2 separate regions of the Homo sapiens genome follow, and region 1 is linked to region 2. Evidence: promoter capture Hi-C in human tissues and cell types (Jung and others, 2019). All regions are on one chromosome and are shown on one strand. Each heading gives the region's core, a stretch centred on a gene start or on the middle of the fragment in contact. The rest is flanking DNA. Distances are from core to core; before and after follow the strand shown. Region 1 has its middle 25 kb from the start of RAB12. Region 2 holds the start of PPP4R1 (protein phosphatase 4 regulatory subunit 1).

Region 1 (4,303 bases), core at 1,096-3,595, 1.0 Mb after region 2:
CATGGCCATGGGAATCCAGCAACACCTGCAGCTCTGTGCCCCTCCAGCTGGCCCTCTTGGACAAAACCTAAAGTAACCCACAATGGCTTTCTCACAGGCATGACCCCATCACCTCTGCCCCAGCATCCTGGGGGTGCAGGCGTCCTCCCCTCAGCTATCGGCAGAGCTGCCACATGGCTCACCCTTTAGATTTCTCAAGTGGGAGTCACACACCAGCCTCCTGGGCCCCCTACCACATGGGACACACAGCAGCTCTCCATGTGGCACCTTCAGTGCCCCTCTTAGCAGCTTGAGGACAAACCTCCCCATTTTTCCTCCTTGGGAGCTGGGACTTAGAACGGATCAACAGCTTTCCCTAAAAAGTCTCTGCACAAATCCCTCCCATCTCCACACATTCTGGCCTTTGATATAGGTGAGGGTTAAAGCTTCTCACCAAAGACCCTAAAAGCTAGACTCCTTACTTGGAACCTCAGGTTGGCACACGATCTTTCTCATCTTAGGGTCTCAGCCAAACCTTCCATTTTAAAAAAGTTTATTTTTATTTTTATTTTTGTAGAAGCAGGGTCTCATTCTGTTGCTCAGGCTGGAGTGCATTGCCGCAATTGTGACTGCAGCCTCAAACTCCCAGACTCAAGTGATCCTCCTGCTTCAGCCTCCTGAGTAGCTGGGACCACAAGCATGCACCACCATACCCGGCTAGGTGTTTAATTTTTTGTAGAGATGGTATCTCACTATGTTGCCCAGGCTCATCTCGAGCTCCTAGGCTCAAATGATCCTCCTGCCATGGGCCCCCAAAGTGCTGGGGTTACAGGCACGAGCCACTGTACACGGCTCAAAACTTCCATTTTTATATTCTATTATGTACTATATAATGCCTCCCAGAAAGCCACCCACAGCCCCACCCAGCAATAATTATTACTACACAATACATATTTTTGTATTTATTAATACATTAATTTTAAATAAAATAATATTACTTCATCTTTGAAAACTGTTTTTTCTTTGGAAAATTAAACAATGCAACTGTATTTTTTTCTCAGTCCATCCATTTAAAGAAATTAGGCATTGGAGGCCTTACATCACTCTGCTTTCGAGTTAAAACTGGAAATGATAATACTTTTCATTTATATAGCACTTTAGCGTTTAAAAAGGAGGGCATTCAAATTGCTTATTTCACCACTTGATTGTTCAAAATGAGGAGACATGGAAGAACTGTTAAGAAAAAATGGAGCTACAAATAAGACAAATAAGGCATGCCTTTGTGTCCACCCCAAATCCATAAGCAAGTGAGGAAGCACACAAAGGATTTTAAAACTTTGGAAGAAGATTTGTACCTCGATCAAGATGACAGTTTTATTATTTATCTCAAATGTTCTTCCTCATTGATGGTCATACTATTTAAAACGTTTTGGATTTTTCTTGTTCTTCCCTGGAAAGAGGCATTCAAACTTGGGAAGATTTAACCTATGCTGGCCGGTGTGAATGGTGTGAAATGACTGCTCTCCAGTGCTTTCCGCAGGCAGCCCCGAGACCAGGTCGGGCTCTCCAAGTAGGGATTTGCAGAGAATGTCGGTGCCTAAGCCACTGCATTACCCAGACAATGCATGCTTGCTTTTTGACTTGCTGCCTTAATTTCATCTGCAGAGCGGGACGGGACTGCTCCACACTGGGGCTAGTCCTTTTATTTGGAATAAAGGCTTGTTAATGATGGAACTACTGCTTTCCATCCCCAAAATAAAAGACAACTTTAAAAATTGTCTCCACTTCCTGCTCCTCCTGCTGCTGCTCCTCCTTCTGTCCTCCCTCCCTCTCCCCTTCCCCTCTTCCCCTCTCTCCTCTTCTCCCTCCCTCCCTCTCTATTTTGTTCTCTACTTAAACCTTCCTCTCCAACTTTACTAGCGCAGGAGACATCTTAGCACTTGCCTGGCGACTGAAGCTCTCTGTTTTCCCCACCGGGGAGAAAGAATTGGCAGTCAGAAGCCAAAGTCCTCCGCCGCCCATACCAAGTTCTTCCTTGTACCTGGGCATGAGGCGCAGAGAGCCAGGGAGTCACCCAGCCTTTATGAGGAAGTGGGCTAACCTTAGACCCTGTCTCCTGATGACCTCATCTCTTAGCTCTGTCTACCTCTGTAAGATATTTGATCAGAGCAAATGGGTTTCCCTCTGAGTAACATGGGGCCTGTCGAACCCTCTTAGACCCAGAACCCCTCAGCCACAGTGCTGTGCTGCTTCCTGGTCTGTGTTGGGGGACATTCTCGCTGTCTATCATGGCCCCCAGTCTGTGCCCAGGTATACTCAGGCTCACCTGGCTTCCCAGGGACACTTTTCATTTCAGGCTTGGAAGGTACGGTGAAATCCATGTTTGCCACATCTTTTAATGTGACCTGGATCTTTCAATAATTGTTGACTTATTATTTAATTAATTTCTTAGTTTTTGCATCCAAAAAATGTTTGTTGAGTGCTTCTACTGCTTTGAGTCCTGAGCCAGCTGCTTAAAGGGTTCCAGCCTTTGGAGACCTGTCAATCCCACAGAAGATCCTATGTGTCTCCTTCTGTCTCTGCCTACTGGCCTGCTAAGGATTCAGTGTACAAGATGCCTCCGGCGCTTATTCAGATCCTCTCAGCCTCACTCACACATTGTCCAACTACAGTTGCAGCCACCAGATAGTGCGGGCTCTGATGGCTTTGTGAAGGTGCAGCCTGGTGATGCCTTGAGTCCCCACAGGCCCATGCCAAGCACCTCTCACTCCCCTCCCCAGGGCTTCCTGGATGCCATCCATGGCACCTGCTTAGCACCTGTGCATGTGTAACCTACACACAAAGGAGTTAACTCCTGTGGGGCACCCTTGGCCAGTGGGTGACAAGAGCTTCCTTTTTTCATTGCTTTGTCAGGGAAGTAAATCAGAAGTAATACCACATCCTGGGAGACACTGCAGTGATCAGCACCATCAAAGATGAAGGATGTAGGGGGTGTGAACCCCATCATATCCTCGTAAATTCTCTGGGTGGTCCCTGCACACCCCCGATGGACCATGCCAGAGGCCAGTGGATTATACAAACATAAACAATTGGTAGCCAGTGGCACCAGCTGTGCTGGATGTGATGTCTTTATGGGAGCACGTGGGCTCCTGTTTTGGCATGTGGCATGCAACTATTGATCTGGCAAATGCATTTTTTTCAATTGTCATCAATAAAAGTATCAAAAGCAGCTTGCTTTTACAGGAAAGTACTCCAGGACTTTGTCAACTCTCCTATTCTTTGTCATCATAAAATCTATTGAAACATTGATTACCTAGACATTCCACAACCGCCATGCCAGTTTACTTTATTGATGATATCATGCTTAGTGGACTTGCTGAGTATAAATTGGCAAGAACTCTAGAGGCCCTAGTAAAATATGAGAGTGGCTGAGGGTGAGAGATAAACACCATGAAGATACAAGAATCTGTTACTTTGGTAAAGATTTTAGGGATCAAGTGGTCTGGGCAAAGAAGACAAAGCCACCTTGGGAAAGGGGAAATGGTTGCACCTCACATCCCCTACTAGTTAAAAAAAAAGATGAGGCACTTCATGAGGCTCTTTGGGTTGTGGAGACACTTGGAAATGCCACTCTCATCCATTTGTAGAGTGGCTTGGAAGGCCACCAGCTGTTTCTGTTTTTGTTTTGAGACAGGGTCTGGCTCTGTCACCCAGGCTGGAGTACAGTGTCTCCATCACGGCTTACTGCAGCCTGGACCTCCCAGGCACAAACAATCCTCTCACCTCAGCCTCCCAAGTAGCTGGGACCACAGGTGCATGCCAGCACACCTGGTTAATTTTTAAAACTTTTTGTAGAGATGGGATCCCACTATGTTGTGCAGTCTGATCTTGAACTCCTGGGTTCAAGTGATTCTCCCACCTCGGCCTCGCAAAGTGTTGGGGTTATAGGCATGAGCCACTGTGCCCAGCCTAGGGCCACCAGTTTTAAGTGGGGTTCAGATCAAGAGAGGGCTCTGCAGTGGGTCCAGGCTACCCTTCCATTCAGGTGATATGACCAAGCAGAAGTGATGCTGCTGGAGGTATCTGTGGTGGTGAGGAGGCTGTATGGCAAGTCCTTAGTGTTCTGAAGTAATGCCATCCTGCAGCAGAGAACTATTTGCCCTTTGAAGAACAACTCCTGGTGTGTTCCTGGCCCTAGTAGGGACTGACTTCCTTTCCAGAGACACCAAGTACCTCTGTGATAGAACTGACCTCCGTGAGCTGGAGATATGCAGCTGTGCCATGGGAAGGTAATGCTGCGTTCGAGGTTAGCCGTGAGCAGGCC
Region 2 (4,287 bases), core at 1-2,500:
CAACACATTGTCCTTGGTCAAGACTACAACGTAGAAAGGAACAAGCTAATTAACTACTTAGAATTCCCTCTCCTAAGAGACCACATCGCCAAAGTGGCACCATGACACAGCTTGGTGTTTTGTTGGTCACTTTAGGAGAACACCATTTTGGAGGCCTTGGGTGGAGCTGGAGATAGAGCCATGGAGGTAGAATCGTGTCGGAAAACCTGGGTTTAGCCCCATTTTGTACTTGGGCGTTTGAGCTAATCGCTTAAGTCACGTAAAACAACAAGACTAATAAAGTCTGGGATACAGACTTTAACACCTCAAGTGCTGCCAAAAGTATTTAGAAGACAAAGCGAATCATAGGCACCCTTCACCGAGCACCTCCTAGACATCAAGAACCATGCTAGGTTCCCTACATTCTTCATTTAATGCCAATAACCCCACGAGGCAGTTATCACCTTCATTCTACAAATGGGCCCCACTCCTACCAATTAACTGGCTGAATCAGGATCTGACCCCGGGCCTGCCAACGCTCCCGCTGGTGGATTGCCCGCCTTGTCAGCTCGAGTTGGCAGGACGTGGGAGTAAAAACCCGGCGCCCCAGCCTTCACCGTGCTGCACGAGGAAGCTGGCTAGGCAGGCATGACTTTGTCAGTCAACCATCCCGCAGCCGGGCCCTGGGCTTTGTTAGCAGCCACTTGGCGAGGGCCCCGGGCGGGTGGGGAGGCGGCGCTTCCTCCAAGAGGAGGTGGGACCCCGGCCCCGACGACCTCGGAGCCGCCCCCGGCCCCGGATCGCCGACGACGTACGTGCAGGCCTGGGGATGGGGCGCTGGCTGCGAGCGGCGCGCCCGCCGAGATGGCTGCGGCTGGCAGGGCGGTGGGCGAGGCCGGTGACCCAATAAAGCGGCCGGGCCGCGGGAGGCCCCGCCCGGCCGGGTTCCGGCACTCGCCGCAGGGTCCCGGCCGGCGGCAGGTTGCGCGCCCCCGTCCGCAGCGCTCGGCGTGAGGGCGGCTCGGGAGGAGGGTGTGAGCGCGCGTCGCCGGGCCGGGACCCGGCAAGCAGCGGGAAAGGCGGGAGGCGGGAGCGCCGGTCGCCCGGGAGCCGCGCGGAGGGGCAGGCGGGGCGGGGCGGGGCGCGGCCGGGGGCCCGGGCGGCCGGGAGCCGCGCCGCCCGCGGCAGGCCCGGGCCCTCGGCCCGCCCCGCGCGCGCGCCCCCGCCAGCCCGGCCCTCCTCCTCCCCGCCGCCCCTCCCGCGCGCGTCCACCGGCTCCCCGGCTCGCGCCGCTCCATGTAGCCCCGGCTCCCCGGGCGGCCGCGGAGGAGGGGGCGACCACAAGATGGCGGGTACGTGGCCCCCTGTTCTCCGGGCGGCGGCGGCTCCTCGAGCCCACCCGCCCTCCGCCGCAGCCCTGAGTGGCTGCCGGGCCGGGGCCGGCGTGGGGTCCCGGCGCGGGAAGGCGCCCCCGGGGCGGGGGGGAGGCGGGCGGGGGGGGGGCGTCGCGCCGGGCCCCGGGGCGCTGACCGGGCCTTTCTTCTCTCCCCTCGGCGCAGACCTCTCGCTGCTTCAGGAGGACCTGCAGGAGGACGCAGACGGATGTGAGTGGCCCGGCCTCGCGGTGGCCTGGCAGTCCGCGGGGAGCGGCCGGGGAGGGCGGGCGGCGGCGAGGCCTGGGCCGGGCCCTGGCTGGCTGAGGGGACGGTGGGCGAGGGCGGCCCCAGGCGGGCTGGGGTGGCGATCGGGGGGGAAAATCTCGCGTCCGTGAGGAAACGGCGCGCCCAGGTTCCGCTGGGGGAGGGAGACGCCCGGAGTAACGCCCAAGTTCGCTTTCCGCCCTTCGCTCTCTTCTCCCGGCGCCCCCGAATCGCCTGCGGGCTCAGCAGTGGCGCGGCTGTTTTGGAAGGAGAAGCGGTGGGGCAGGATTTGAAGTGGGGTTTGGGTGTGTTTCTGCCCCTGGTGTCCCCTTCCCCCGTCACTCTAGGAAGGAAGAGGCTCGCGCGGGAGGTGTGTTTCCTTAGAGTCGCTCTTCCAGGAGCGCCCGGGGGTCAGCCTGGGCCCCGGCTAGCCGTCTGGGCTCCCCGACCCGGTTTTGGATTGTTTGAGGATGACATACCTGTCATTTTACTTTGGCTGGTAGCAGTTTTCAGATGCTCCCGATTTGATTAGTGGATTACGAGAAGGTTAGAAGGTGTGGCCTCCGCAGGAATTACTAGGTTTGGAGAGCATATTTCTTTAATGCGGATGTTCAGAAATCACCCAGCCCTCCTTCAGTGTTAACAGTGCAGCTTTCCTTTGAGGTACTGAAGTTTTTAAAGAGTTGACGCTTTTATTTTTAAAAAGACAAAGTTTCTGACATTTCCTGATGGCGACGGAATTGATATTTAGAAAGGAATTTTTCGTCTTATATGTACTTTTCTAAGCCTCAGAAAATAATTTGGGTCACGATAGAAAAGACAAAAGAGTTAAGCAGGTTTGTATTGAAAGAAGTGACAAATTGCAGTTAACTTAAAATAGTTTCTATTCTTGCTAATCTTCCAAAATAGCGACCCATCAAAAAATCAATAGGTTTTGAGATGCATTTTAAAAATGCAGAGTGTGCAAAATATATAAGCGAAGATCATGGGATACATAAGGGACCAAGAAATTGTTCTGAGTTGAGATGATAACCATAGTAGGATTGTGGTCTGTTTAGTGGAAAGCCTACCGGATGCTGAGATTGACTGTCTAGTACCTGTATAAGTAATTTCAGAGATGGCTGCAGTTTGAAATTACTCTTTTAAATACTCTGTAGTTAATCCTTAGCATTGTCTAATGTGGTTCCCTTACTCAGAGTAAACTTAATTTTTAGATTCCTGGTTGTTTTGAGTAAAGTAAGGGGGATTTACTATTTAGATGGATTATCTGAAACGAGTAATTTATCTTTAAAGTAAATGAACCACATCCAAACTTTTGCTAAGTCTGTGTTTTTAGTGAGGTGGCTCAAAACAGCTCTCTTAAAGGGAGCAGTACTCATGTAGTGAAGGGCAGCTTTAACATTTTATTTAATGTTTACCTTAAGCCACTTATCTGCCTAATAGTAAGTTTGAGATATTATTTAAGGCATCTGTTGATTTCAGATCTCTTGCCAGGTTAGGATTGGAGAAATGGCCCTGATTATGTTACCTCGAGGAGGGCTTTTTATATTTATGTTCGACTTCGTAAATAGAAGATTCATTTATTCAGCAAGTATTTATGACTGGAGCAAAAACTTCTCACTCCTGAAGGATGAAATGCAGTCTCAGTTTCTTCCTTAGCCCCCAAGAAGCACAGTGTAGAGGGGAAGGCATACCTGTGAAAAATTCAACCATGAGTTTCAACACTCTGCCAGGTACTGGGGATGGAGCTTTGAGAAAGATGGGCACAACCCATGCCCTCTAGTGGTTTACAAGCAGTTTTGAATCTAGGTGTACAGTACAGTATTACAGTTACCACTGGAGCCAGGCTGCTCTGTTTGTCTTAGCAGTGTCTTTTTGGGCAGACTTGGGCAACTCACTTAACCTCCCTATGCCTCAGTTTTGTCATTTGTAAGTAGGCATAAGAAATATTACCTACTTCATAGAGTTGTTCAAGGCTGTACATGAGTTAGTGCCTCTGAAGCACTTGGAACAATTCCTGGTAAACAGCGATGATTATGATTATGTTTGCTGTTATGAGAAAAGAGCAAGGGAAGCTTAAAAGAAGAGCAGAGAAGGAAACACTGATGTTGAACCTTACAGAATGAAGGTACTTAAAGATGCTGCCAATGCTCGCAACTAAATTTTTTTTTTTTTTGAGATGGAGTTTCACTCTTGTTGCCCAGGCTGGAGTGCAAAATGGCGCGATCTCGGCTCACCGCAACCTCTGCCTCCCGGGTTCAAGTGATTCTCCTGCCTCAGCCTCCCAAGTAACTGGGATTACAGGCGTGTGCCACCACGCCTGGCTAATTTTGTACTTTTAGTAGAGACGGGGTTTCTCCATGTTGATCAGGCTGGTCTCGAACTCCCGACCTCAGGTGATCCACCTGCCTTGGCCTCCCAAAGTGCTGGGATTACAGGCGTGAGCCACTGCGCCCGGCTGCAACTAACTTTTTAAAGATTCTGTTTCCTGTGCATTTTAATTTAGGATAAAACAGACATTGAAGGCACAATAGTTATTTGCATATTCATAATTTGGTTGAAGGCTTTGTTAGAGTAATTGCTTATTTTTCTCAGTTACTAAAGTTTTTACAGGTGATACCTTTACCCAGAATATTCAGGAACAAAGGACTTTTGGACATATGGCCAG

The links. The method cuts DNA at HindIII sites, captures the fragments that hold promoters and counts their contacts. A contact is called where the count stands out against the background at its distance.
Region 1: a fragment that was not itself captured here is called in contact with the fragment with the promoter of PPP4R1 in region 2 in 1 of the 25 tissues and cell types used here (lymphoblastoid cells).

What each region holds. Positions count from the first base shown.
Region 1 is chr18:8,582,242-8,586,544 of GRCh38, reverse strand. No RefSeq gene overlaps it. Among named protein-coding and RNA genes, the nearest start is that of RAB12, 25 kb to the left of the region's middle. The HindIII fragment of the contact is 7,472 bases long and covers 1-4,303 here.
Region 2 is chr18:9,611,522-9,615,808 of GRCh38, reverse strand. PPP4R1 (protein phosphatase 4 regulatory subunit 1) reads left to right here and starts at 1,250. Exons shown (of 20, transcript NM_001042388.3): 1 at 1,250-1,331; 2 at 1,539-1,583. The coding sequence starts at 1,325. It overlaps PPP4R1-AS1 (PPP4R1 antisense RNA 1), which reads right to left and starts at 1,002. Exons shown (of 3, transcript NR_110773.1): 1 at 795-1,002. RefSeq lists silencers at 554-1,063, 1,164-1,433, 1,534-1,783 and an enhancer at 2,054-2,133. The HindIII fragment of the contact is 9,629 bases long and covers 1-4,287 here.